Regions from separate parts of the Homo sapiens genome. Here region 2 is linked to region 1. The links are contacts of gene promoters, found by promoter capture Hi-C in human tissues and cell types (Jung and others, 2019). All regions are on one chromosome and are shown on one strand. Each heading gives the region's core, a stretch centred on a gene start or on the middle of the fragment in contact. The rest is flanking DNA. Distances are from core to core; before and after follow the strand shown. Region 1 holds the start of KLHL38 (kelch like family member 38). Region 2 has its middle 35 kb from the start of KLHL38.

What was found. Contacts are between HindIII fragments. The study calls those that stand out against the background at their distance.
Region 2: a fragment that was not itself captured here is called in contact with the fragment with the promoter of KLHL38 in region 1 in 1 of the 25 tissues and cell types used here (aorta).

The regions. Positions count from the first base shown.
Region 1 is chr8:123,651,644-123,658,094 of GRCh38, forward strand. It overlaps KLHL38 (kelch like family member 38), which reads right to left and starts at 2,158. Exons shown (of 4, transcript NM_001081675.3): 1 at 1,943-2,158; 2 at 1-1,284. The coding sequence starts at 1,283. It overlaps LOC105375738 (a long non-coding RNA gene), which reads left to right and starts at 6,295. Exons shown (of 4, transcript XR_928606.3): 1 at 6,295-6,451. The HindIII fragment of the contact is 9,515 bases long and covers 1-6,451 here.
Region 2 is chr8:123,615,919-123,622,440 of GRCh38, forward strand. No RefSeq gene overlaps it. Among named protein-coding and RNA genes, the nearest start is that of KLHL38, 35 kb to the right of the region's middle. The HindIII fragment of the contact is 3,446 bases long and covers 1,395-4,840 here.

The DNA of each region.
Region 1 (6,451 bases), core at 908-3,407:
ACAGCGACTGCGGGGTGGAGCACCCCCACGGGCATGCTGGCCATACTCTCCCAGACATTGCAGATGCTGTCATACCTTTCCATGGAGCCCATGAGCTCCTGCCCTTCTCCAATCCCCCCGATGGAGAAGATGAAGTTCTTATGGGCAGTGCTTCTGTGGGAGTAGCGGGCCACCAGCATGGGCTCCCCCAGCCTCCACTGATTGAGTTTCAGGGAGAAGATGTAGACATTGTGACTGACCAGACTCCTCCCTGAGCTGACAGCCATGCCCCCCAGCACATAGATGCTGCGGTGCAAGGTGATGGCAGAGGCCTTGTACAGCCGTGTCGGGAGTTTGGCAAGGCTCTGCCATTGGCCGGTCTGTTTGCTGTACAGTAGGACGTCCCTGGTGGTCTGCTGGCTGTCCTTCCTTCCGCCCAAGAGGATGAGGAAATCTTGGTAAGAGTTTCTTGGAGGGACATGCAACAGGAGTTTGCAGTCTGGGACGGTGGTGCCACACAAAGAGAACATCTGTCTCTTGGCGGTCTCCAAGATGATCTGGCATGCAGGCGAGGACTGCAGGAGGGCATCGTTGGCGATGAAGTGGTGAAAGAAGGCTGGGTGGATGTACTGCAGCCTGACCTGCTTGAACAGTTCCTGCATGTATCGCTTCCGGGCCTGGAGGTCATGCTTGATCCAAACCATGAGGGCCTCAAACACCTTTTCCTCCTCCCCACAGAGCCCATCATCTCCGAGATAGTCCCTCAACTCCAAGGCACAGAGCTCCTTCAGGTCGGCCGATGCGGCCACCTCTGGGAAGGACGTCAGTGCCACCTCCCTGGCTTTCTTCTTGAGGGTCTCGCAGCTTAAGATTTCTGAGAGTCTGATCATACCCAGGCAGTTGCTGGGGGCCAACTGGCTCTGCAAGTACGAGGAGCAGGCCTCAAACAGCTTGGGGAACTGTAGCATGGAGGCGGCCTCCATCACGGGGAGGACATTGTCAGTGGCAATATGTGCCTCCCCCGTATACACGTAGGAGACGATCTGGTCCAGGGTTGGGGGGTCAATGCCTTTCAGCTGCACTTTGGCTTCACTCTTCTCCCGGAAGCTGCTGCAGAACATAGCCCTGAAGTAGGGGCTGCTGGAGGCCAGCACGTTGCGGTGGCAGGGGATCTCCCGGGCACCGGCACAGATGCTCACATCAGTCAGGATCCTGCTTTGCCTTAAGCTGTTGAGCTGCCTCAACAAGTCAGAAGAGAAGTCGTGGTCTTTGAAGAGCAGCCCATCTAGTGACTCCTCGTCCATCCTACAAAGAGGGAAGGAAGCCCCCAGAGTCAGCAAGAGTCAAACCTTTCTCAGCTGCATGTGCTGGAGGGTTCAGCTGTGGGGACTCCAAGACCAGTGCTCCTATTCCATTCCCCATGATGTTTGCGGATGTCACCATGGATATTGTGTAGGGAAGATTGGAAAGGAAGGCCACATACATCTCAGACCTGAGCCCTTTTGGGTTATGGTTATTTTCAAAAGTAATAGGCAAATAGTATCTTCAGCTAATCTGAGAGAAACAACCAAACAAACAAACTAAAGTTGTTGGAAGTTACTCTGTTATCAGAAGCTGAAATGTTAGTCTGAAGCAAGATAACAGTCCATGGATTTGACCAGCAGAAGTTCATGAGCCTTTTTCCAGATCGATGGCATATCTGTTATTGAGTAACAGATGTCTAAACCTCTCTTTCTGGGTGTCAATCATTCCCCAAGGATGATATTCTGGAGGTGTGGCCCTCTGGTCACTGGACAGAAATGAGGGAAGAAAATGGACCTTTGATGCATATATTTAAATATGACTTCATTGAGTCTTGTTTTAAAGATAGAATAAATAAAAGGAAAGACCAAACAATCCCCTGGTTTATTGGATGACACCTGGTTTTCTACTTGCAGAAGAAATAAGTATGAGGGACACTTACCTTGTTTTGCTGCGGTGACATCCACTGGTGCCTGGTCTGACTTATCCCCCCGGAGAGTTTCTACCTCTAGCTCCAAGGGAAACCATAAACCCCAGGCCTTTCTTTCAGTTGGCAAATGATTTGTCCTGGGAGATTTCTGGATTTGTTTATGCTGAAGGCACTTTCATAGTTTTCTAGAGCTTTGTGCAAGGACTGCTGGGCAGGGAGACAGTGTATACATTCCAGGGCTAAGAATAGTTGCATATGTACTTTCCACTGTTATGACATGTGACTTTCCAGTTGCCTTTTGCAGCAACCCGAGGGCCTGCAGGGCCGGCGCATGCCCACATGCCTCGTTTCCTTGGCAAGTGTTTACATCGGCAAAAATAGATCGGGAGGAGCGGCTTCTCTTAGAGAAGACTTTGCTGTCTGCTTGGAACCATCCCGAGTCCCCTGTCCTAAAAGTGCTTGGGAATTCTAGCCGTCTGTAAACAGGTTGCTGTGACCTGTGGAGAGTCACTGAAGATGGTTCTGGGCCACAGTGGAGGTGGCAGGTGGTCACAAGGGAAGCCGGAACATGAGCCTGTGGGTGCTATTCAATGGATCTCTATTTCCCACCATCTGCCTGGCGGGATCGCTGGGGAGAGCTGTGATTTCCTCCTCCAGGATCCTAGGTGATGAAATCCATGACAAAAGTTGTTGTTTTTTGTTGTTGTTGTTGTTGAGCATCCCAGGGTTTCCAGACTCCTGAAGGCCCAAACCTTTGTCAGGTCTCCTTACTCAGGAACCTCTGATTGACAGTGGTAAGGCCGAGCTCCTCCTGTCGCGTCTGCCTCTCCCAGACACGTGCTGATTGCTCTTCAGCTGGCTTTTTATAGTTCAGACTTCCTTTTCTGTCTTACTTTTCCATTTTGTCTTGTCTGGCAGCTTGAGCTAGAGGCAGGAGGCAAGGCATATTGCTTTAGGGAGAGAGAGAAAGAAGATGAAGGAGGATGAGGAGGAAGAAGAAGCAGGGACAGAGGGAGGGAGAGAGACGAGAGGAGGAAGAAGAGGAGGAGGAATAGGAGGAGGAGGAAAAGAAGCAGGAGGTAGAGAATCGGGGGAGGAATGATGATAGTGATGTGGTAGGAGGCAGCTTTCAATAACAATCAGAATCACGAGAGAGAGTGAGGGGGACCTCAGGTCTGTTCTGCCCCTGCCTTCAGGGAGGTCCATGATTGTCTTAGCCACAAAAGGCAGGGAAGCCTGACTTTGTCTCCTACTCAACGTCTTGCTCAACTAGTGCAATGGTCTTCCATGCATTTTTTTTTCTTTGCTCCTAGTACTTCTCTCTCCAATACATCCACCCTGTCTTCTCTGGAGCAGCCCCTGGGAAGGCAACTCAGAATTTGCCAGTCCCCAGCATCAGGCCCTTCAGTGGCTCCCCATGTCTGCAGGACTCCTTAGCCAGAATCGGACTGGTGTCCTGTCTGCTTCTGGAACCATGTCTACTGCCACTCATGTGTGGTAATCTAGCTCCATGAGACACTTACAGATCCTTGTATGCATCTGGTCACTGTTGGGGAAGCTGGGCTGGCCTGGCCTTTGGGACACCACAGGGCAGGGTGGAAGGAAGAGGGTTTCTCATTCACAGTTGCCGATCGTAGAGTGGATTATGCCCAAAAGAGTCCAGAAGGTCAAGGCCAGGGAAATGGATCCAAAACATGTTACTGGGGCCATGGGCCTGGAGGCCAGAATTAGGAGCAGGAGGCCTAAGCTAAGGGGGTCAGAGACCCATGGAGGCACAAGCAGGGAGCAGGTGAGAGGAGCTGTTCCTCCATATGTCCGAGTTGGTGAGCTGTGCTGGTGACATAATAAGTGAGTAGCCACATTCCTGAAAGAGCCCAGGGATCCTCTGATTCGTACTCTATCCCTTTCTATGAGCTCTTCCCCTCTGCTCACTCTATCATTTTCACTGTTTCTGTTCGTCTTCCAAAACTTGGTTTATGTATCACTTCTCTGCAAGTCTTTTTACCCCTCTCTAAGACACTTAACTTCACACTCCTCTGTGCAGTTTCCATTCTTCTACATGCCTCTAATGGCATGCCTCATACCTCACTGAGATTATGTTTACTTCCCTGTGTCTCTCTTATTAGAGTGGAAGTCTCTGGGCAGCAGGAATCTTGACTTCATTGTAGCTCTACTCCTAGCACCCAGCACAGGGCCTGGCTTATAGGGGGTGAATTTCATACACTTCCTGCATTGAGCTGGAACAGAATGGGGAATGGGGAAAGAGAGGGAGCTTTGCTGGGTGGACTTCACACCACTGTCTGCTGTGCCGGTTTTGCAGAGCTGCCATGTATGGCTTACTGCGTAGACTGCCCTGCAAATATGCTCTGGAGCAGCCCTGATTATCCACATAATCAAATCCAATAATGTGATGAAGTGAAAAGTAAAACACTTGTTTTATACTGCAGTGCAAGACTTAAGTTCAGGCTGGGAACTGAACTGAGGTCCTCCCAACGCCAAAGCTAGCATTCTTGTCCTTGACCTCGGAGTGAACATGAGGAAGAAATAACTTCCTTAATGCTCTGAAACACCTGCATGATTTCTCTTCCAGGCAGCAAGCAAGCCAAGGATTTATTCTGAGGGTAATAGGTAGGGGATCCTAGGAGTGAATTAACACAGCACCGTTCCCTGGGAAGGATGTTGGATTTTCCCCTACATCCCCTTACTAATTAAACTTTCTGGAATCCAGCTCTGTCAATTGTTCAGATAGACCTTGGTGTGCAGCATCAATGTCTGACCAACTTTACTAAATCTTTTGGTTTCTAATGTTTAGAAAAAATAGGCCCTGTTTTGTTGGCCTGGCCTACCAGGAGGATCCTGGTTCTAGGTCAGATGTCAAATGTCAAGACACAGAGTCTTAGTGTTCAACATGGCAAACACACACATATAAGCCCAAGCTTGACCCCAAAAAGCATCTCTACCACCCACATGTAGCCCAACCAGCCCATTCATGAGTTGACTTCTCTCAGGGAGGTTTATACTTTTTGTCTTAACTTTCATCTAGAAGATGTCTTAGTCTAGGGCCTGAACATATGGCAACCTAAAAGAAATGACATCAATGAGGACATTCAGCTCATTGTTTCTCCTTTTTTTGTTTCTTCTGAGACAGGGTCTCACTCTGTGGCCCAGGCTGGAGTGCAGTGGCATGATTATGGCTCACTGTAGCCTCCAACTCCGAGGCTCGAGTGATCCTCCCACCTCAGCCTCCTGAGAAGCTGAGACTAAAGGCATGAGCCACCACATCCATCTATTTTTTGTGTTTTTTGTAGAGACAGGGTTTTGCTATGTTGCCCAGGCTGGTCTTGAACTGCTGGGCCCAAGAGATTCACCCACCTTGGCCTCCCAAAGTGCTGGGATTACAGGCATGAATCACGGCCCTCCTTTTGATGAAAGTCAGTATCATAACAAGTCAAGGCCTGAACTTTGGGGGCAGAAGGGCTGGGGATAATCTTGGCATTTCCCCTCAGTATTCATGTGGTCTTGGGTAAGTTATTTATACTCCTCCAGCCTCAGTTTCTCCATCTGTTAAGTGGGGATAACCATCCTTGTCACAGTGAAATAATGTATGTGCAGTATGCAGTAAAGTGCCTGGCACAGTGTATATTCATAGTAAAGTATGGTCAGTATGATATTATTACTCTAAAATTAATCTCATTAGATTCCAATGGGTCTTGGTGCCTGGTTTTCAGTGTCTCAATTGGTCCCCTGTGCATTCTAGCATTTTCCTTTTCCTTGAGCAATTGCTGTGTTCCTCATGATCTACTTAGCCTCCAGGAGTCCTGGCATTCAGTCTGGGCTCTGCTATCGACTAGCTGTGCATCTTTGGATGAGTCAATTAACCTCTCTGCACTTATTTCCTCACCTGGCCCTTCTAGATCACCTTCCTGTGGTTTGTACCCTGAGGTGTTCTCTGCAATCTGTGGCCTAGAACAGGGACTGGGAGAAACTGAGACTGAGGGATGAGGGCTCTTCAGAGCTTCCTCACGGCTCTCGCCTGAAGCCAAGTGCAGAGAAGAAACCTAAGTCGAGCTCCCAGCAGGTGCCCTTGATGAGTTTGCCCTTGTAAGTCAATCCAGAAAGCCTTCATTTTCCCTCCTGGAGTTTTGGATTGCCATGGTGGGCACTTTGACTCAGGAGGCCTTGGTTTCTTTCCTATCTGGGTGTGCGGGGTCTGGGTCCCCAAGGAAAGGGCAGGCTGGCTCCTGTCAGCAGCAGGTTTGACAACAACAGCTGGGAAGCCACAAAACACTCTCTGCCACAACCCTACCCTCAGTCCTCTCAACCCACTCGGGGCCGTGCTCCCCATCTGCTCCTTCCAGGAGAAGTCCCCTCACTCTAATTAGGAACCATAGCTATGGTGATTGCTGTGTTTCAAGGATGGACAAACATGCACATAAAGGCCCCTGTGGTGCTGCGGTCTCTCTGGAAGGCTGTCCCCTGCTAGCATCAGAGAATCTCCTGTTCTTACAGGTGGAGAGAAAC
Region 2 (6,522 bases), core at 1,868-4,367, 35 kb before region 1:
CCCTAGGATACCAAGTTTTGGGCTCAGTGAGTCTGTTTTTGGATAGTTTTGGCGGAAAAGATCAACCAACCCTTTAGCCAATTGGTGCTTTGCTTTTTTTTTTTTTTTTTTTTTGAGACAGGATCTCTCTCTGTCATTCATTCAGGCTGGAGTGCAGTAGTGTGATCATGGCTCATTGCAGCCTCGGCTTCTCGGGCTCAAGCCATCTTCCTACCTGAGCTACAGACTTTGCTAGATGCTGCCAGGGGCCCCACAGGATAAGGGGAGATACCTGTTCCCCGAAACTCATAGTGTAATTGAGAAAATGGCTCGTATGCATGAAGCTGTAATGACTCAAATGGGCTTGCTGGGATTTTTGCTCTGTTGGCCTGTGTATGTGGTTGTGTGAGTGTGTGTATATGAGTGTGTGTGTACGTGTGTGTAACAGGGAAAGGGTGAGACAAGAAGAAGGCAGAGTGAAGGGGATGGGGGTAGGGGAAGAAAAGTGATGTGTCTACAGAACTTGGATCAGAAGGCATGAGGAACTCAAGAGTCCTGCCTGCCTGACTGGCGAGATAAGAGAATTCCATGTGAAGGTGATATTCAAAGTCAAGCGGGAAGCACATTCAGACCATCTGGGGACCTTTAAAACATACCAGTGCCTGGGCCCTACCTAAAGATACTAGTTTAATTGAATGAGGCTGAGGATTGGAGATAGACATTTTCAGAAGCCCCCGTGTGATTCTAATGAATACTTGGACTGAGAACTGGGCAAATGCATGCTTTTCCAGTGTCTCATGCCCCCCCTGTTTTCAATCCTGGCCACAGATCTTTCAACAGACTTCCTGGTGCTGGGTCTCCTTGTTCTCTCTTTAGTGTGACCGAGAGGCCAGATGACCACGTATATGCCTAAGAGGAGAAGCTGCCACCTGTTGCTGTAAATCTGGTACAATTTCATCATCTCTTTGCCCCATGTATTTTCAGTATCTTATAACTGCATCTGAATGATGTGTTGTTTTTTGCTTTGTAACAACTTGTAGGGTCACAAGGGGACGTGTGCTGTAGTGCTTCTGGGGTTTTTACCTTGTAAATATAGACAGGGTAAGTTTGCTTGTTGCGATGATTACCTTTGATTGTGATAGACCAGAGCAAGCTTTCACTTGGCTCATCTTTCCTTAATTTGTTGTTGAGAAAGACTTCCAAATAAATCCCTTTTGCAAAGACTGAGTGAATCCCAACCACTTCAGGGAAATTGCCCCTAAGTGGGGGCTTCAGGGAGGTCAAACCTGGAGGAAATGATCAGGAATCTCTCTAAAGTTATCAGAAAGATGGAAAATCTGGAAGGGAAGAGCTTCATAGATATACGCTTTATCACTTCCTCCCTCCCTGTCTCCAAATATGTATATATTTTTTCTGAACCATTTGAGGGTTACATGCAGACATCCTGGCCTTCTATCTCTAAACATTGTAGAGTGCATTTCCTGCAAACAATATGTTAGGGCAGTAGTTCTCAATCTTGGCTGCACACATTAGAATCTAATTCCACATAAGAATTTTCTGAGGAGCTTCAAACCAAAACCAAAACCAAAAAAAAAAAAAAAAAATTCCGGTCCCAGTCTGTACCTTGGAATGGTTGAATAAGAGTGGCTGGGGCAAGGCACACAGTATTGTTTTAAAGCTTCTAGATGATTCCAATGTGCAGCCACAGTTAAGAAACTCTATGTTAAGGGATAAGAGAGGCTTAAAAATTAAGAGGGCACCTCAATATGTTGCAAGGAAGAAAGACGAATCAGAAGCCCAGGTTGGGGAATCGTCATATACAACAGCTTTGGAATGTAATGGTTAAGTCCAGCCAGTTCCAAGAACTCAGCTTAGCCTTAAGAAGATGGCCAATCTCCAAACATCCTTGCAATCCCAGTTCGTGAGCCATTGGCATCACACGGCGCAGGGTACACGTGAGAGCTGATAATGAGAGCAGCCCCCCGACTCTTTGTTCTTCTTGGCCCAGAAAGAAAGGAGAAGGGACTTCAAGATCACCCTGATTCTCTATGCTGTCTCTATGCTTGTCAGTGATCCAAACAAGAGAACTGCCAACAAGGGTTAGGAGAGTGCTGGGGGTGGGGAGGACATGATCATTTTTCAGGGGATAAGCTGAGAGATTCTGGGCTTCTGCATTCACGGTTCTGCAAAAGGAAACACATAAAGCAGCATGGATAAGACTCAAATCCATTGTCCAGTGTCTTAGGTGAGCAGGTGTGAAATGTTTGGTTAGGACGTGAGCCATCAGCTGGGGCCACTTAAAAAAAACTTTTTATATTAAAATAATTTCAAACTTAACAAAAGAATTGCAAGAATAGTATAAAGCAGCAGTCCCCAACCGTAGGGCCACGGACTGCTACCAGTTTGTGACCTGTTGGGAAATGGGCGGCACAGCAGGAGGTGGGGGGCAGGTGAGTGAGTGAAGCTGCTTCCGTACAGCCGCTCCCTGTGGCTCGCATTACCTCCTGAGTTCTGCCTCCTGTCAGATCAGTGGTGGCATTAGATTCTCATAGGAGCTCACACCCTATTGTGAACTTAGGGATCTAGGTTGCATGCTTCTTATGAGAACCTAATGCCTGATGATCCGTCACTGTCTCCCATCACCCCTAGATAGGACCATCTAATTGCAGGAAAACAAGCGCAGGGCTCCCACTGATTCTACATTATGGTGAATTGTATAATTACTTCATTCTTTATTACAATGTAATAATAATAGAAATAAAGTTCACAATAAATGTAATGGGCTTGAATCATCCTGAAACCATCCCCTGCCCCTGGTCCTTGGAAAAATTTTCTTCCACGAAACCGGTCCCTGGGCACTGCTGATATAAAGAACTCCCATACCATTCACCCAGGTTCACTAATTGTTAGCTGGTTACCACTTTTGCTTCCTTGCTCCCTCCCTCTCTGGATGTGTGTGTGTATATATATTTCTGAACCATCTGAGGATTAAGGGTGCACTCTTTACCCCTAAACACTTCAGTGTGTGTTTCCTATGAACAAGTGCTTTGTCTCATATAACCACGGTGCTGTGGAAATAAATGAAGACCAATCAAATGAGAAAAGCAAAGGCTGTTTATTCAGAGCTTGCTACAGCCTGGGAGTCAGCACCATCATGTGTCTTTTGGCAGAGACTCAAAAGCAGGCAGAAGAGTGGGAATGCTCATAAAGAGGAAAACAGGAAGATTTCAGGTGGAAAAAAGGGTTGGCCTGGGGAAGCTGAAGGCAGCGAACTAGAAGCCAGGTGTCCTCTATGATTGGTTAGGGGTGCCTTTCTGGCTTTCTCTGGTTGGTCCTAAATTGGCAGTCGGAGCAAAAATCAGGGAAGTTGTCCATTCCTAACCGAGTCCTGGCCATTTTGAGTAGATTGTTACAGAAGTTATTGTTTAGCTTCCTGGATTGTCACTAGAGATAGAAACCTGGCTTCCTGCAAGTCTGAATTACAGCAGGCTGGTTTTCTGGGCTGGTTATTGTAGATAAGGGGTTGGTTTCCTGGACAGGCTGCTGCAGGTTTTGGGTCAAAGTTCTATTTTTACATATGGTCTGGCCATTGTCCATTTGTATACTGAATCAGTACGAGGATCATGTTCAGATTTAACTTTGGCATAACACTGTGATCTAACAGACACTCCATGTTTGAATTTTGCCAGTTGCCCCAATCATATCCTTTACAGAAACTTCCACTCCTCTCCTCCAAATGCAATCAAGGATCATGCGCTGTATTTGTTCCTCATGTCCCTTTAATCTCCTTTAATCTGGAACAGCTCCTCAGCCTTTGTTTGTCTTTCACGACACTGGCATTTTTGAGGTGTTCAGGCCTGTTGTTTGTGGTGGTGACACCCTTGAGGACACACATTTGTGAGCTGATGGTGAAAATATGTCCACAGCCAGTGCCCCTCTGGACTTTGCTCCTCGAGTCTTATCCAAGAGACTCTGGGAATTGTTTGGGTTTACGCAGCCCAGGTAACTGGATAATCAGCCTTCATGGAGGACACAGAAAGTCACGTCTACATGCAGGGCAGACAGGAAGCTTGTAAACAGAGAGTGGTACCCACGGTCATGTCCATTAGCAGCTAATCCTCTGCAAGGCCAAGAGAGTTTGTGAAATATGTTTTGGTTCCAATTTTGGAAATACGTTCTTTCATTAGCTCAGCCCTCTGCTGCGTTTCACATACATAGACACTGGGTTTTTCCCCTTCTTTTCTTTCTTTCTTACCTCCTTCCTGCTCCAGTTTCCCATTTCTGCAAAGACGCCAGAAACATTTTCCAGGCCCTGAGGGGAGAGGGCCAGGGTGTTGTTTTTGCAGGATGGGGTATGGTGTCCCTGTACGACTGGAATGGACCTGTGTTTTTTAAAAACATCAGGACTCAGAGAAGGTTTTGTTTTGAGCCTGAATGGCTTTGAGGGCAGGCCTAACACTCTGAAAACATCCACCTCTTAGTCACTCCAAGCTGCTGTCATAGAGCGATTTCTGGGTCTGTCAGCAGCCTGTATCATAGTTAAAATCTCCTTTATCCTCATCCCTCTTAATACTCTGAGCAATAACAAGTTTTTATTTATGGGGGATTGAACTAAAATAAGTTTGCTGTGTGCAGCAGTTACGATTATGGTGTTTGGTGTCAGATTGTCTGGCTGAGTCTTTGCTATCAAACCATGTGTCCCTGGGTAAATTGCTTAATCTCAGGTTCCTCAGCAGTGAAAAGAGGACAGTATTAGCTGTTTTGTAGGGTTAGAGTGAGGATTAAATGTCGGGATAAATGATGACATTTAGCAGAATGATTGGCAAATAATAAGCACTCATCAAATGCTCATCATCGCTATTACTTTGCTTATCACTGAAGTGGAAAGCTAAAACTTGTTGGCTAAAACTCACTTTTGGTGATCATTGTGGAAGGAGTATGGGTTTTGTGTTACCCTGATGTGGATTTAAATCCTGGCGGTGCCCATCACTGGCTGGGTGATGTGGGGCAAGAGAACCTTTTCTGAGCCTCAGTGTTTCCCATCTGTAGAATGGGAATGGTACTACTACCTTTGCAAATGTGTCACGAGACCACAACAAGAGAACCCATGTCCTGCATCAGCACAGTGCTGAGTGCTGAGTGCAGAGTGCACGCTGAATAAAGGCACTGGTTAGTTATTTTCTTCATTTCTCTCCCCCTTGATCCCTTTTCGCCTCACAAAGTGAGTCTCATTTCTGGAACAGTAAAGGGAATGGCTATTTTGACACGTGTCAGGGCAGTGATGAAATTAGAAGTCCTTAGGATCATTATTACTCTATTTATTTGCCATTTAATAAGCATCCGCAAAGGTCTTAAAAGCTCTCATTAGGATAGACTTTTTGCAATTTGTATTTAGGCCCAGCCAAGGAAAAAGTATAAAGTGGGAAAAATGAGTTTTTTTGTGCCTCATTCATTCCCCACTTTCCTTTTTGGTGCCTCCAAACTCGGGGTTCGGAGCCTGATGCTCCCCATGGGCCAGTGTGGTCTTCGGCCAGATTCCTTGCCTCTCTTGAGAGAGACCCCATCTTCTAAATCCTTCCTTCTTCATCACCCTGTTTAAATGACGGGTCTTTTGTGGCATCCTTTAGGACCTGTGGGAAGGTGTGTGGGTTAAGCTTTGACCCAAAGGATAATGGGTAATAGTTGACTAATGTGTCACTGCATTTAGGGAATGTGTTTGTATCTTAAGTACAAGACTAAAGAAGCCTTTAGTCTTGGAATCCTAGGTATTTTAGGGTGAAGAGAATTTTTCAGGGTTTGTTCTCTTCATTTTCCTGTTACAGTCAAGACCCCACAGTTAGCAGTAGGACCTGGGTTAAAAGTTGGGTCTTCTGATTTCCAGTCCAGAATTCTTCCAGTCTCAGGTGTGAAGGTAGGTGATTTGGAAAGTGGCTTTAGTCAGAGGGACTGATTTAGTGCTTCCTTCTCCTCCACCACAAGCCAGGGCCAAAGGCTATGATGTTCCTTGAATGTCAACCACTGTCACAAATGTGCCAGTAATGTCTTGGGAGGATGAGTTTCAGGTTTCCATTTTTTTCGGTTTAATTTTTGGGGTGGTTCTATTTTCCAGATTTAAAGAATAAATATACACTGAGTTACAGAAAGGCTACTTTTATTCCAAACTCCAGACATATTAATTACACCTACATTAAGAATTAATTATTCTTTCCTCAGTACCTGCGTTCTCAGGCAACCAAGGGGGTAGTACCTGCAGCTGCTCTGGGTCTCTAAGCCTGCTTGGTAGAAAGAGAGCACATGTATTGCTTTAACCCTTCCATGTCACTGCCAGGTGAATGAAGGTTCCACTAGTTACCCTGAGAGATTACTTCTAAGAGGTCCCCATTAAATTGCAAAAATGGAGCCTGAAGGATAATAATAAAATTACCACCTATTAACTCTGGAAAGAATGAATTATGAGGTTGGTGAGGCTTGGGAAGGGTCAGAGGGAATAGGAAGAAGCAGGGTATGTTTTGATGCAAGGGGTGGGTTGGTTAAAGAAAGGTT